Linked DNA regions of Homo sapiens: regions 2, 3 and 4 are each linked to region 1. Evidence: promoter capture Hi-C in 16 types of primary human blood cells and fetal thymus (Javierre and others, 2016). All regions are on one chromosome and are shown on one strand. The core of a region is centred on a gene start or on the middle of the fragment in contact, and the rest is flanking DNA. Distances in the headings are between cores, read along the strand shown.

Region 1 (3,980 bases), core at 1,059-3,558:
CTTGAGAAGAATGTGGCTTTGCAGCCTGAGTCATGTGGCACACAGCTGTAACTTCTGCCTTTTCTTCCCTGTAAATAATTAGAAAGGCCAAAGGGCATCAGAGATAACACCCCCCTACCAGGATCACTACCCCTTCTCACAGAGTAATAAAGTCATCTTCCTTAGAATGCAGCAATCTATAACCACAGGCACTGGTCTCATATAGAAAATGTAATCCGGCTAACATTTCTGTCTCTGCCTATACAAGTAAAACCTTAACTTCTCCACTTTGGAATGCTGATCCCATTTATTTGGACTTGATGGTTCCTGGGTGGCTACCCTCAAGTTCTGTGTTCAAATAAACTCTATTCTTAATCTCTGAATTAATTTTCTGAATCTCATTATTTAAGGTTGACACTTATCTCACCTATAGTGCCAGAGAGAATTACCTGAATGAATATGAAATTTTAAAAAGATTGATTTTGCTCTAATTTGTTTTTAATAAATCCCTGTGTACTGCAAAATTTGCTACCTTTCCTTACCTCCCCTTACAATATACATGTATATGTAACATCAAAAGGAAACAAAAACACTCAAAATACTTGAGTGAGATTAATATAAAATATTTTAAATTTTTGAGTAAATATTTCAAAATAAGGCAGGGGGGCTTTAGAAAAAGTAGGACGAAAAAAATCTTTGAAATGTTCAGGAATGATTGAGATAAGTAAAGATCTCTGAAAGAATGCAAAAAATCCCAGTGGGGCTAGCAGTAATTCTATTGTATAAGCCATTTGTCCATTTGATAAGCACACATTTTATCTAATGTTACCAGATAGAGCATCAGGCCAAATGGCCTCAAGCAAATTGGCAGACAGATGACCTGGTCCCAGAGGCTCCGGATCCATCTCTGACCCAAGGCCAGCTCTGGCACTCAGCCTTCCACTTCGTTCCCATGCTTTCAGCGCTAGGTCTGAACACTTGCCTGATGGTCCTGAACCCCTGGGCTAGGGCTCTTGCTTACATTTGCCAGTTCAGTGTGTGGTAAGATCTTTCCAATTATTTGCTAATGAATTAGTGGAGGATTGAATGGACAAATGAATGAAGTTTCTCTCCGAAGCCCCACATCTGAACTTGCTGATGGATTTTCTTTCTGCTCCGTTGTCTGGTGTCCACTTCAGTTATTTATTCACCCATTTATTGAGTCTTTAGTGTGCAGTGGGTAATGTTCAATAGAAAGAGTCATGTCTACTCCAGTCCTGCACCTTCCCATTCTGTTACTACAAAGGTGCAATTTACCTCACTGCAGTCAAACCATTTCTTGTGTTAAGTAGCAAATAGAGGTTTACACTGTGAAACCAGGCAAGTCTTGGACTTGGGAATGAGGTTCTTGGAACAGAATCCCAATGCATGGCTAACAGTGAGAGTCTGCAGGTGACAAAGGAACCGGGCTCCATTCTGCTGATGGCTGGGGAAGGGGAGGAGAAGCTGCTGACCTTTGCTGAAGGACTAGGATGAACTACTCATCCCATTTTACAGCAGGCAACCTATTTTCAGAACATTGAGGTGAGAGTCTAATCTCTATCAAAGTCTTCCTTTCTTACCAAATGCTATAGGAAGTCTCTTTATTTCTTTTAGCCTCAGTCTCAGAGTCATAGTGCTCATTAATGTGACCATGTATGGTAAAGGTAAAATGTAATAAGATGTTAATTTGATTATTATTAATATCATGCTGAAGTACTTGGGGTTGATGTATCATTATTTCTGCAATCTACTTTCAAATGGTGTGTGGTGGGGGAAGGATACAGACAGAAATAAAGCAATTGTGGCAAAATGTGGCAATTGGTAAATCTAGGTTAAGAGTGTACAGATATTCCTGGTACTGTTCCATCAGCATTTCTAAGGATTTGACTTTTTTCAAAATAGAAACTAAGTTGAGAAAAAACTAAATAAGAAAAAATAAAATGTGATGGCTGTGCCTCTCCTCAACTCCACTGTATGAACACAAGCAAGGTCCTTACTGTCTCTAAGCCTCTTCGTTGAGAGTAAAAAACTGGGGAAATTAAGCCTTGCCTTTTATACTCCCTCAGTGTTTTGTGAACACCAGTCATGGTCACAGATGTAAAGTGTTTTGCAAACCATCCAGGACTGTCAGGGCATAAGGGGTTAACGGATGTGATCATTTGTACAGCACCAAGCGATGTGTAGATCACCGGGCCAAACCCTTGGCTGTCTAGACTCCAGCCAATCTGTGTGCCTCAGCCACCTTAACATTACATATGCATGACTGGCCTCCTGGATTCTTCCCTGCTCAGAGCACCAGCTGCAAGCACACAGTCTTCTTCCTGAGAACTAGCGGGCAGAGCAAACTCCGCTGCTTCCATTCAGAAACCTCGGAACAGACCTTTGCCTGCCAACTTCCTAGCTCTCTGGCCAGCTTCTGATTGTTAGCAGTGGGTTAGCTCCCATGAAAACCTCGAAGGCATCCCAGCGCTATAGAGGCATCCGGAGAAATGCCAGCCAGTGCTACCTCTACCAGGAATCTCTGCTGCTCAGGTGAGCTGGCCCCATTCATCAGCTGGGCAGAGGAGTCAGGTGTGTGAGGAAGGAATGCATGGGTCACCAGAGCGAGGGACAAAGTCCCTGTCCTGCTCAGTTGTCCTTCAGAATGAACTCAGAAACTCACTTCTCCAGGTTGTGGTACAACTAGGATGGCAACCTCAGCAACGGGCATGGGGGGAAATGGTTCTTCTGGCTGCTTCTTGACCAGGAGGTCAGAATCCAAAAGCTTGCATCCCAACCTGGCTTTATGGCTGGCCAAACCCACAGATATGTTTCCCTGTTTTCTCTATGTTCACTCAATCAGCAATGTCAAGAGAGAGCAGATAATATGTCTATCATGATAAATAAAGTGTTTATTGGAAAAGCCTTCAGGCTAGTTAGAAGTGGATGAGAGTGCTATTCGAATTTGTTAAATATTTATAAAGGTCTAGTACAGCTGCCATTTAATTTGGTGAAATTGAAAAAAATTCTCCTCTAAATGAGTAAAAACAACATGAATTAGAGAATAACAAACGAAATCTTTTATTTCTAATAGTCATAGATGAATACTCTTAACTCCTCTCAAAATGTTGCATTAGGATAAGCATATTAAGTGTAACTGGGAGTAAATGTTGCTACATGTTGGAAAATTGTTCCTCTTGAGAGTATCTATTTCCTGAAATATCTCACCCATGTAAATTTGCTTAGCTAATCTTTCGCTCGTAGAAATTGCTTTGCCTGGCTCTGCCTCGGTTATCTCAGGCTTAAAATGAATTGACGTGAAAGGGTGAAGAGGGGTTTCTGAGTGGCAGAAGTTTTGATTTATGTTACCTTCAAGTAACATAAGGAGTCCTGCCTCTAAAATTAGCTGATTATTTCAATGAGCCTGAAAAAGAAATTATTTTGCCTACCCAAATTGCTGCTACTCAGGAATCCAAGAGTACGTAAATACCCTCTTGTCTCATCTTGTGTTTTCTGATAATATCATGCACCCTGAGAAATCATTATCTTCTAATGACCCAGTGGAAGTAATTGAATCCAATAAATGTGTTTCAACAGGCTACTGACACTGGCAAATTATCTGTTTCTGTGGGTCCCTCACTTTACACACACACACACACACACACACACACGCACAAACACATACACATTTCATACAGATGACCCTAGGGCAGTGAGATGCTGAACTTGTGCCCAGGGCAAGATGATCTTTGCTGGAAGCAATTCTTCTAATCAGATTTCCTCCTTAATGCCCTGATCATTCAGCAACTTGGATGACAGCTTTAGTGCTGATGAAACAGGGGACAGCAATGATCCGGAACAAATCTTCCAGAATATACAGTTCCAGAAAGATCTCATGGCAAACATTCGCTGCAGACCCTGGACTATGGGACAGAAGCTGAGGGCATTGAGGTAAGGGCCTCAATGGCCATTATTGATCATTACAAGCATGCTTTCCGATA
Region 2 (4,175 bases), core at 320-2,819, 610 kb before region 1:
ATATTCATGGAAACACTATAATAGCCCCCAATTGAAAACAGCGAAGGTGTCCATCATAATAAAATGAATAAGTTGTTGTATTGTCACATAATGAAACACTTTATAAAAGTTGTTCTTAAAGCATGGACCATGGACCAGAAACATCAGCATCACCTGGGAACTTGTTAGAAATGCAAGTTCTTGAATCTCACTTTGGACCCAGTGAATAAGAACTATAAGAGTGGGGCTCAGAACTCAGAACTTACATTTTAAGAAGCCTTTCAGATAATTCTGATGGACTTTAAAGATTAAGAACAGAATTTCTCTCTGTTTCTGGCTGTAGAATTTTATTTCTACAGAGATAAATATGAATGAATTATAGCTTTTGCCAACAACATGAATGAGTCTCAGAAACATATTCTGTTGTCATAGTGTTTTTTGTGATTTCCCTAAGGTATCCACAGGACATTTCAGAGGACTGACTCTTCTGTAAATTCAGAAATGTCTCCATGCTCTGATGTTTCTCATCCAGAGAGTCAGTCCCACCTTGGGGCCAAAGTATTATGGCAGGAAACAGTAGGGAGAGATATGGGGGTCACTAAAGGGGTCTGCAGTAAAGGGTGCACTTTGGACTCAAGGAAACATTCAGACTCTAAAATGAAGTCCATGGGTGCCAGAACCCCTGGTGGAATGCTTGAACTGGGGCATCCCAGGCCTGGCTGTGATTGAAGAGAATAAATTCTGCTGCTGAAAATTCCCAAGGGTCTGGATGGAGAAGGTCTAGGGAAACTGGATATTCCTAGACTAAGAGATTGGTAGACGCAGAGGTTCTAGAGCATCTGCTTGGCTTGTCCCTGGCTCTGAATTACTGGCATTGTTTCCTGGGTCATTGCTGTTGTTGCTCCTGCCAAGACAATTTGGCCTGAGCCACACCTGTTAGAGAATTTCTACAACTTTGCTTGCTTCTTTTTGCAGTAGACAGTGCATTCTGGTGTTGCCTCAATAAAGGCCATATGAATTCCTGAGGTTCTTGCTCCTCTTGCTTTTATCCCATTTTCTCCAAGTGTTCCTTAAAGTTTAATAATTTTTTAAAAGGATTATGAGGTAGGTGTAAAAGACAAACTGTTCTAAGGTGTAAAAATAATCCCATTAATGCACTATGGCCTGAGTGGCTCATGGCCAAAGAATAGATCATGACTGTAAAACATGTTGCATTGAACTCTTCTAGCTCTATGGATTTCAATACCTTCTATACACTATCGGCTCAAAAATTTACATTCTGAGGACTTCTCCAAGCTATTCTCTAAGCTCCAGATGCATGCTATCTAATTGCCCACATGACACTTTCACTTTATCCTAAATAGATTTTCCTTCCATTGGCTTCTTACCCCATTCACCTTGTAAAGAATGCCCCTCCCCTAGTCTTCTCCATCTCAGGTAATGGCCTAATGGCCCCACCTTTTACCCAAGACCTAAGGCATGGGAGTCCTCCCTGGTTCTTCTGGTTTCCTCATCCCCCATATCCAATCTACTAACACATTTTTTGGTCTTGGAAAATTTATTTTTTTTTTAATAAATTTCTTTTGAAATTTAGTTTTTAGCCAACCACTTCTCTTTCCACTCTTTCTTCCCAAGAACAATCCATAATCACCTCTCCTAAATTTCTGCATACACTCCCTAACAGGTATTTCTCCATTCTTGTCCCCTTTAATCCATTCTGCAGACAGCATCTAGAGTAACTTTTTGAAGTAAGTAACTTAAGATGACCTAATTTCCCTAATTAAAACATGCCATGGCTTCTCATTACACTTAAGATCCAAATTTCCTGACATACCTACAAAGACAGGATCTAGACCCTGCCGACTTTTTTAGCCTTATCTGTTCCTCTTCCTCCAGTTTACCATACTGTAGCCAGGCTGGCCTTCCTGCTCTTTCTGAAACAGGACATACTCATCCTTACCTCAGGGACCTTAACTTTCCTCTTGTTTCCCTCTGGAATGCCTCCCCAGCCAGATGACCACATGCCTCTCTTCTTTTCATTGTTTGTATCTCTGCTCACATGTCATCTCCTCAGAGACATCTTTGACTATTTCATCTAAAATGGTACCTCCCTTCCACCTCTTGCTTCGGTCTTCTTATTATACATTATTTCCTTCACAGCATTCTCTATCTGAACGTTAATCATTATATTATTGAGTGTCTAGCTGAAAGATGATGAAGGTGTTGGCAGGAATATAAAGCAAGGGAGGAAACACATGTAACAGAAAAGTTGGCCGGATCATACTTCTTCAACCAAACATCCCTAAGTCAACCATGAGTCAGGCACTGTACCAGGAGCCAGAATTAGAAAGATGAATTAGACATGGGCTTGATCTCACAAGTCTCAGAGTCTAGTGTGATAAGCAGTATTTTCAAGAAAGGTTGGGAGCACAGGAAGTGGTATGTCTTGTGGGTATGAAGGACAATGAGGAGAGTTTCAAAGTTTTACGGGTAATTATATTTGGAGAAGGAGTTGGAAACTCTGGAATTGAGTTCTAGGTCATGAGCTGGGAGAATGGTGGAACCATCACTCTATGATCAGAAGGAGGGAAGCCTGATCTGTGACAACCTCTGACACCTTCAGAAACTCCCTAGCCAGAATTCGTGGTAGTCAAAAGCCAACAGTGGGCTGGGCGTAGTGGCTCACGCCTGTAATCCCAGCACTTTGGGAGGCCGAAGAGGGCAGATCACAAGATCAGGAGTTCGAGACCAGCCTGGCCAACATGGTGAAACCCAGTCTCTACTAAAAAATACAAAAATTAGCCGGGTATGGTCGTGGGCGCCTGTAATCCCAGCTACTCGGGAGGCTGAGGCAGGAGAATCACTTGATACTGGGAGGCGGAGGTTGCACTGAGCCAAGATTGCGCCACTGCACTCCAGCCTGGGTGACAGAGCGAGACTCCGTCTCAAAAAAAAAAAAAAAAAAAAAACCCAACAATGGTTGTGCTGAGACACAGACAATGATAAGAAACAGGAGCAAGGCATGGTAGCTAACAGGAGAGCTTCTGGTCATGAAGGACTCTGGAAAAGGAGAGAAGCAAACTATCTCCTTGGGAAGGCCTGGATTACTGGGCAATCCTTTTCTGGATCCAAGCCCTCTTGGGTTCTCCGTTTTCCAGGTCATTCCCATTCCTTCTCTATCTTTACCTTTCAGCAGTGCCTTCCAGCTCTTGGAAATCTATCCTGTTCCACAGAATCCAAGAGCTGGAGCTATGAGTTGACCCATTAGGACACATTATGATCTCTATTCTTGAGCTTTTGCCTGTATTACTTTCCAAGCTATGGTTGCTGGTTTCATTTCATGGAATGCTTAAGCTTTCTAGCATTTAGTCTCTGGAAGCTGAGGGGTTTGTCTACATAGGGTTCTAGTTATGGAAGCTTGGTGGACCCCACTTGGTACTGGGCATGCACTTGTAGCTCAGCTCCACCCACACTCCGGGAAGCCAGATTCTGAGGCCTTTGTCCACAGCAGCCTTGTTGTGGGTGCACTGCGGGAAACCAGCCTAAGATGCCAATTCTAACCCCTATCCCTCAACCTCAAATTTCACATAAAGTTTCTAACAAAAAATAGGCAAATTGGAGTGGTGACTCCAACGCATAATTTATGCTCAAGTTATGGCTCTTTCTGCAAACAAAGCTTTACCCTAAACACATCGGCCATCACTGGTGATGGTCTGAGTCCAAAGTCCATTTCCATGATGTGTAACCAGGGAACTTTATGTCTTAATCAAGATGGTATTTATGTCTGAGGAAATATCTGAATATAATGTATTCCTCAGTTAAGCAGAAATCCCAAGAGAGACAGACTTCACCAAATGCTTTCATTTTATCCACACTAGCCATTTATAGCCTGGTTTCATAAGGAAAAAATATGTTTACTGACTGCTAAGGAGGTGTACATCTTAGTTTCTGAAAACTAACTTACTAAATAATGTGTTAAAATGGCTTTGCATTTTCAGGTTCTCATTTTCAGATGTCTACATTGTGAGCCATAAGGTCTGCAGTTTGCTTAAACCCAGATTATTATATATTTTTGCTTCCAGTGATATTTAATATTTGGTTTACCTTTTTTACTTACCTATTCATAATGAATGGCTGATGATCTTGAAGTGGATTCAGCTTTAGTGTAAAACATATAAACATATGCTGTTCTTTTT
Region 3 (4,116 bases), core at 239-2,738, 810 kb before region 1:
AAGAGGAAAAGCATTCAACAGGACAAAGAGTTATATTTTATTAAAGAAAAATTCAATTGGAACTAAAATTATAATGGTCATAAGTCTTTATGTCCCAAGTAAGGTAGCACTGAAATACAGAGTATCCTAAAAGTCTGGAAACACAGGGCTGTTTTTTTCACTGTTATAGTTATTACCGTGAAATATAGGACAAAATCTCAGTGTATATTGCTCCAAAGAATAATGATAGAATAATATGACTGAGATTAAGTCAAAGTAGATTAAGTAGGTAAAAAAGAGTAAAATATAAAAATTTAACAAATATTCCCTCCTCTAGACATTTTAGATACTGTGCATATAAAGCAAAACATTAAAATAAAAATTAGAATTTACAGAATAGAAATTGTATTAGAAGACTTGGACATGCCTTCCAGAATTTGACATGTAAATTAGGTAGAGGATAAATATGGAAATAGAATATTTAAATAATACAAACAATAAGCTTCGTTTAATAGGTAGATATAAAATTTTGTACTCTAAGTAGAAATTAAATTTAAAAATTGAATTTACTAGGTCACAAGAAAAGTTTTAATAAAATCTCCAAAATATAATGTGCACAAGCTATTATTTTCTGACCAAAATAAACTAAAACTCAAAGTTAATAATAAAAAATTGTTCAAAATAATTCTAATCAGCTAGATATTAAAATACAATCTCCTAAGTCACTCTTAGAGCAAAGTAGAAATTAAATTTGCAGTTACAGAGTAGAGCAATCCTTTGGTTTAAAACATTTGCATTTCACTTTAACCAAACAGCTTAAGGATAAATTACGCCTATTTTACAATATTTGTTTTCGCTATTAGAAAGAAGTGAAACTGAAGCTCCAGGCATATGTCACAATGTTGGCCTCTTTGCTCATTGACAAGTGCCGCCTCTGTAGGAAAGCACTACAGTAGCACTAGTGCTTATCATCCCCTGCAAACTTCCTTTGTAAGATGATGTATAATAAAGAACATTTTTTCAATTACTCTTTAAAATGGATAAAAATAGCTTCTGTAAGAAGGTATAACAAAATATCCAAAGGGCATGGTAATGTCTACTCAGAGTTCAAGGAAATGACAAACAACATACCTCTAGAAATTAGTCTAAAATCACTACAGGCTGAGGTTCCAGTGAGGGAGTGCTCAAAAGGCTACCTAAGAAGCGCCTGAATTATTGAGGCGCTGAGATGTCAGTTCCAGGGGACCTGCAATTTAGAGCAAAACAAGCCTCGATCATCAAAGAGGACTCAAGTACTGTGAAGGTTCTAGACTAGAAACAGATACAGGAACAAGACCAACACTGAGTCATGTGGGACTAGAACCTCCAAAAGGGTGGAATAGAACACTCAGGTCTGGAAATGGAAAAGGAAAACTGTCGGCTCATAAGAGCAGATTGCTAAATTTTCAGGAAATTTGTTAACCAGTTGTTAAACTTGGCCATTATTAAAGATTAAATCACATAAATTTATAATCGAGTTAATTATGTTAAAAATAAAGGCAATGAATGCTTAAATGGAGCAAAAAAAAGTGGCTAGCCTTTCTGACAATATCAAAACACAGTGAAACTGGAACACCTGGTATTTGGAAATGATTCAGTTTGTGAGAGAGTGTTTAACTGCCAGAGCATCCATTCTTTTGCCGTTTTCTATGGTTAAGAGATGTGCTTTTTAGGTTGGGCTTTACTAAAGAGCCAGACAATATAGTACTTTAGGCTAGAAGATTTTTGTGTTATGTTAATGGCCTTTCCCCCTTATTGCTTTTTGACCTTACCCCTTGCATATTATAGATATTAATTAAAGATGGAAAGGAGCGTGCCTATATGGATTTAAACACTGACAAAAGTCAGAATTCAACATATCAAAGCCTTTAGATGTGATTCCAAAACTCTGAGTATAAAAAGCTAGCCTTTGCTTTTATTATTTGGTAAGAAAAAAACAAGCAACTATTCATTCCACTGAGGTAATCAGAGAAAGAATGACAAGTCCCCCCTTACAAAAAAAAAGAAGATACTAGTAAAGAAAAAAGCAAAAATTAAATTTTATACAACAAAATTCCCTAGAATTGATAAGTAAATAGCAGATGTATTTAAAAAGATGAGTACAATAGTTAAATGTCTCACTGAGGAAAGGGGAAAACAAGCAAGTTAGGAATGAGTGGGAATGAAGTAATAAACATAGAGATTTTAAATTTTAAGAAAATACTGTATACTTTTCAAGGCTAATTAATTTCCATATGCAAATACGCCCCTTGATTTTCTAGGGAAAAAATGTTACAAAACTGTTTCAACAGTAGAGTCCTGAATATGTCAGTAACTAAAGGTATCGAGTTTTAGTTTAAATTTGCTTTTACTATTAAAGAGGTTGAACACTACCTTATATGTAAGTTGGCCACTTGTATTTTTTTTAATTGTCTGTATTCTTTGGCTGTGTTTTTAAATTGTGGTATTCATTTTCTGATTTATTGGTAAAAGCTTTTTATAGGAAGCTATTCATCTGTGTTCTGATAATTCTCTTCCATTTTTGACTTGCTTTTTAACTTTGTTTATTTGATTTTTTGCCATAAAAGTAAAAATTTATGGGAAAAGTTCTAATTTTTTAAAATTTTTTTCTGAATGTCTTTAAAGTATTTACAAGTTGGATTTTTTGTTTTTGGGTTTTTGGCTTTTTTCTTTTTTACTTTTTCATTTATGAAGATATGCATTTTAATTTTATTTAATAGTCACACATATGTGTCACTTTTTAATCCATCTAGATTTTTATCTTGGTTTATGGTATGGAGTAGAGATACAATTTTAACTTTAATTTGTTAGTTTTGAAAGTAGGTGACCCAGTGTTTTCACTCCGTGAATTGAGGAACGCACACACACACACACACACACACACACACACACACACACACACACAGCCACACATGAAACATTCCTAAGGATTTGTATGTCTTCTGAGTTGGGGTAATATGTATGTGTGAGTTCATTTGTAAATAGTCAAAACTTAACTTTGTCTCTAACAGACAAAATCCATTGTAGCAGGGGATATAAAAATAGATTTCTTTCCTTTTCCTTCACTAAAACATTTGCTTCATGTTAGCACAGTCTGGGGAAATGAAGGTCTCCTATTTATTAGCTAAACAATGGACTTACTATTCACACTACTCTAAGTTGTTCTTGTCTCTAAATCCTCAAATAATGAAACTCTACATTTCTTTGTTTTTATGATTGCACATGTTTTCACCATATAGTAGATTGTTTCACTCTATTTCATCCAATAATCCCTTATCTGTCAAATTGTGAGGAATTTGGGAGTTGGAAGTTTCATCTTCTTCCTTACAGTTTACTTAGCTTCCACTTCTTTTCCAAATGTGGGGGGAAAATTCCCAAAATAACATGAACATGAAAGGCCAGAGAAAACCATTTAGTAGGGCAAATATCTATGCTAACTTGGGCAGTTTGCTCTTCATCTCATTTTAGACTATGCTTTTAGTTTACTTTTGTGGTTGGTCCTGCTGGGAAGGTACAGGTGGGTGCTGCTTTAATGTGAAATGTGACTTATGCGGTAGTAGAAGGAACAGGTTCCTTCTCCTCAGGGAGAGGACTCACTGTGGTAATTAATGCTTACTTCCACCAGGCAACTGAGCTTATGGTTCACAGGTCAACCTGATTGCAGGATTTTGTCTTTTCCATTGTTATAATACCTTTCCTGGAGGTAATTAATGCTTCTAAATCACTCTCTGAGGTTGCTGTAAATGTGTGCTACCGGTCATGGTTTGAACTTGCTTTATTACTTACCTCATGCTTCTGCAGTTTTCCTGTGGGTACCAGGACTATTGTTTACTGTCCAGAATCTTGTGTATCTCAACTACAGATCTTTTGCACAGTAATATAGCAGTTGGACCTTTCAAAGATAGACATTTATAATGACTTTTCTAACAGATGCAAAGATGATGAAATATTTTGGCTAAAAATAATTATTAACCACTGATTATAGTGACAGCTAGTAAGACTAGGTCACTTTTCTTAGCCACTATCTAGCCTGATTCACATCTTTACCCACCTCTGAGGTCCCAGAGTTCTGAAGCCCCGTAGAAAGTAAACCAAAAC
Region 4 (3,798 bases), core at 677-3,176, 660 kb before region 1:
GACGGACAAGGAGATTTGCGGATTTAGAACCTTGGTGGGTTGGGCACTATTATTAAAAATAGAAGAATGAGGATGTTAGAAGCGATAACTAAATGTAGTGTTAGACCTAGCTGGGAGTCATAGAGCAAATGCTTTTACTTACGATTTCCTGAATACATCTAGTGTTTTTATATATTTGTGCCTTTGCTTGAAACATTTCCTCTGCCTAGGAAATGTGTTGATTTAAAAAAAAAGTAAAGATCCCTGTGGAGGACTAGTGAGATGTGGGGGCGGCGGGGTGGGGGACACAGCAAAAAAAGCCAGTCTACCTGGAGCAGAGTTCATGATCTCATGGGGTGGGAAGAGCTTATCAACGATAAATACAAGCATTTACATTGGTGTGGCTGGGAACTGGCCTTTGAACAGAGCAGGCCTTAAGGAAAGTGACATTTTAGGAAGATGAAGTTGCAGGTGGTAGGCAGGACTGATTTCTTGCAAAAGAGATCAGTGACCCAAGATTGAGGTGGTAAGGGCACCAGGCCAGGGAGACAGCAATTGGAGTGGGGATGAAATAGCATGCTTCATGGCCTCACAGAATCTTGGAGAAAGAAGGAAGCTTAAATGTCATCCAGTTCAAACAGCACCTCTATCAATGCGCAGATCGCTTCCTCAATCTACTATTTTCTTGAAGAATTTTGGGGCCACGAAAGTCATCACTCGTGTGCCTTGGTCTACCTATGAGAGAGCTCATCTTTGTCAGGAGTGAAAAGCCAAAACTTTGCCCAGCGACTTTCATTTTTATAGATCAGGTCAAATTTCTATTCTTTTCTTTTCTTTTTTTTTTTTTTAACCTGACAACCCTTTAGAGATTTGAGGTCACCAACCATGAAATGCTGAATCTTCTTGTTTCTATGCTACCCAGCTCCAGGGCTGTGGTTTTTACATGATTGTTTCCGGCCAATGAATACACAATTGGATGATCTGAAAATTTTCGTTGTGAGTTTATAGACATATTGACACTGTTTATTTAGTCTTTTTTTGAAATTAAGTTTAGAAAGCCTACAACATATAAGGTTAAACATTTGTTATCTCCTTTGAACATACGATGGCCAATAGTGTTTTTTTTTTTAGAAATCTTGTTTCTGAGTATTTATTTACACAATCAAAGTTTGAAGACTTTAAAGAAGGATAGATTTGTGGCTTCTGAAAATGAGCTTAGAATTTTTATGAAGTGTAACTTGACTGTGGAAGTCAGAGAAGGAGCCACAGTGACCTTTGGGAGGCAGTGCAAATGGAGCAGCAAAGATGGACAAAGGACATTGAGAAATGAGGAGAATCATTGGAATTAGGAAGAAAAACTGAACATTTAGATGTGCAAGATGCAAAATAATCAGCAGTAGTTATGAGGAAGGGCATAAAATAGGACATGTGCTTCAGCTGTGAGCACTGAAATACAAGATATTGGGAACAGGGGTTAAAACACATGAGACAAATACTCTAAAAGCTGCATGATGGAGAAGCTTCATTTCAATATCTGTCCAAAATGCTTTCTCTATTGTAAAAAGCGCTCACACGATTTGCACACAGCCAAAACCTGCAAAGAACATATGCAATTCCACGCTAAGCAGTATGAACACATATTGGGGACATATCTGATCCTCAGACTCACTAAGAGTTTTCTCTGAGAATAAAAAAGGATTGCTAATCGTATTTAAATGACATGTAAGAATGAATAAATAAATGTATTATTATTTTAAAAATAACTATTAGGATTTTCTTAGCAGTGTATCTTGCACTGGATCCAGCCAGCATTAAGTAAGTATCAAAGACCAACAGTTGTTAGGATGCTTTTAAGATCCATTTATTAGTAGTAGTATTTTAAATCCCTTTGTATGAGCACATACATCAATATGTTATTGTCATAAAAGTTTCATCTCCATAGCTCAGTATCTATTAATACCATTTAGGGCCAAGTGCCAGTCAGATTCTAGGAATTCCACTCCAAAGAAGAAATCAAAATGAATGAAAACCTCCAATCTATATTTCCCATTTAGGAAGAAAAACTTTCTTGAATTTCACTTGAAAATTTATGAGAAGTTTGGGACTGAGTAAATGGTGGAAGGAGTGGAATTTTGAATTTACTGCCTAAATATCTTGCCCTCTGCTTAGTAAGGTTGGGGCTGCCAAGTAGCTCACTATAAGAGAGTGAATAATCCAGGTTCTTGGTGGAACTAGGCCATATATTAAATTTGGAAACTAGTCCAATGAAGTCCCTTCCAGGGCAACTCAATTAATCCTTCCTTAATGATCAGAACATTGAAACTTTTGCATGCAGACCAATCTCCAAAATGAATCAATTAAACTCAGAAGCTTCTCACAACAGCAAAGTAGGCAGGATTTAGAGCACAGGACAGTACAAAAGCAAAACCACATCATTGTGTGGTGCTATCTTACTGCGTCAAGACCTAGCTAGGACTCTATGGCCACAGGCAGTCTGTACACAAGTTGAAGCAATTAAGGAAGGCATGGGCTCCCTGTGCGAGAGGGAGGAACTCAACCCCTGCCCCTTGCTAAGAACTCTGAGGCAAAGTGCAGAGAATCTCTCCAGCTATTCAGTGTTCTTAATGGCTCATTAAGCTTAGATTTACTGGCTGTCCTTACAAGTCCACTGGACAGTTGTCTAGTCACTGAGATTTTTCCAAATGTTGAATTATATCTGATGATTGTTGAAGTCACATTTAGGGTGGGTGTGGGATTGGTGGCAGAGCTGGGAGACTGCCTAGCTGTATCATACAGAGATATATCCAGTTTCAAAGAACAGAACACCCTCCTGTATTCATTTGGTAGGGGGGCCAAGTACCACAAACTGAGTGGCTTAAACAACAGAAATTTATCGTCTCTCAGTTCTAGAGGCAAGAAGTCTGAGATCAAGGTGTCAGCAGGGCTGGTTTCCTCTGAGGGCTGTGCGGGAAGGATCTGTTCCAGGCCTCTCTGACTTGTATGTGGCTGCCTTCTCCCGCCTTCACTTTGTCTTCTTTGTGTATGTATATCCCCAGATTTCCACTTCTTATAAGGACATCAGTCCTATCGAATTAGGACCCACCCCTCATGACCTCATTTTAACTGGACTATCTTTGTAAAAAGATCCTATCTTCAAATAAGATCGCATTCTGAGATACTGGGGTTTATGACTCCAGCATATCTTTTTTCAGTTTAAGATTCATTTATTATTAGTAGTATTTCAAATCCCTTTGCAGGAGCACATACATCAATGTGTTATTGTCATAAAAGTTTCATTTCAATAGCTCAGTATCTATTAATACTATTTAGGGCCAAGTGCCAGCCAGATTCGAAGCAATTCCACTCCATAGAAGAGATCAAATGAATGAAAACCTCCTATAGTGGCTGAAGCAGGGTTTGACTGGCCTTACACACAGGCAGCCCCAAAGTAAGCAGATCAGGGCTGGTCTGGTTTCTCAGAGACACAACCAGGATCCACAGCTCTTTACATCTTTCTGCTCTGTCATTTGTTAAATGCCTCAGGGTCAAAGGATGGCTGCCACAACCCCAGACCTCTTGTCTATAGTCCAAGCATGAAGAAGGAGGGAAAAGTTTAGTGAAATGACAAGGATGGCCAGTAAAGAGGCACTTTGCTGGTGAGCTTCTGCCTTTTCATTCAGAGACTATCTCTCATTGGCCAGAACTGTTCATATGGTTGGAAAATCAAACATTTATAGTTAAGCAATGTCATCCTGAACAAAGTCTGTGTTATTTCTGTAAAGATAAAAGGTAAAGAGGGATAAATATTGGATAAGTAGC

Evidence for each region. Contacts are between HindIII fragments. The CHiCAGO score rates a contact against its expected background, and 5 or more counts as called.
Region 2: a fragment that was not itself captured here is called in contact with the fragment with the promoter of TMC3 in region 1 in 1 of 17 cell types (endothelial precursors); the score reaches 5.7 in endothelial precursors.
Region 3: a contact is called between a fragment that was not itself captured here and the fragment with the promoter of TMC3 in region 1, in 2 of 17 cell types (fetal thymus and M0 macrophages). The highest score is 7.6, in fetal thymus.
Region 4: a fragment that was not itself captured here is called in contact with the fragment with the promoter of TMC3 in region 1 in 1 of 17 cell types (M2 macrophages); the score reaches 5.4 in M2 macrophages.

Annotation. Positions count from the first base shown.
Region 1 is chr15:81,372,541-81,376,520 of GRCh38, reverse strand. TMC3 (transmembrane channel like 3) reads left to right here and starts at 2,308. Exons shown (of 22, transcript NM_001080532.3): 1 at 2,308-2,532; 2 at 3,784-3,930. The coding sequence starts at 2,444. All of the region lies in intron 5 of TMC3-AS1 (TMC3 antisense RNA 1), which reads right to left. The HindIII fragment of the contact is 5,020 bases long and covers 1-2,766 here.
Region 2 is chr15:81,985,936-81,990,110 of GRCh38, reverse strand. The region is part of intron 3 of LOC105370922 (a long non-coding RNA gene); the gene reads left to right. Among named protein-coding and RNA genes, the nearest start is that of LINC01418, 21 kb to the right of the region's middle. The HindIII fragment of the contact is 3,532 bases long and covers 1-3,335 here.
Region 3 is chr15:82,183,977-82,188,092 of GRCh38, reverse strand. The region is part of intron 15 of EFL1 (elongation factor like GTPase 1); the gene reads left to right. Among named protein-coding and RNA genes, the nearest start is that of EFL1, 77 kb to the left of the region's middle. The HindIII fragment of the contact is 2,009 bases long and covers 484-2,492 here.
Region 4 is chr15:82,029,158-82,032,955 of GRCh38, reverse strand. It overlaps LOC105370923 (a long non-coding RNA gene), which reads left to right and starts at 337. Exons shown (of 3, transcript XR_932531.2): 1 at 337-3,019; 2 at 3,523-3,635. The HindIII fragment of the contact is 850 bases long and covers 1,502-2,351 here.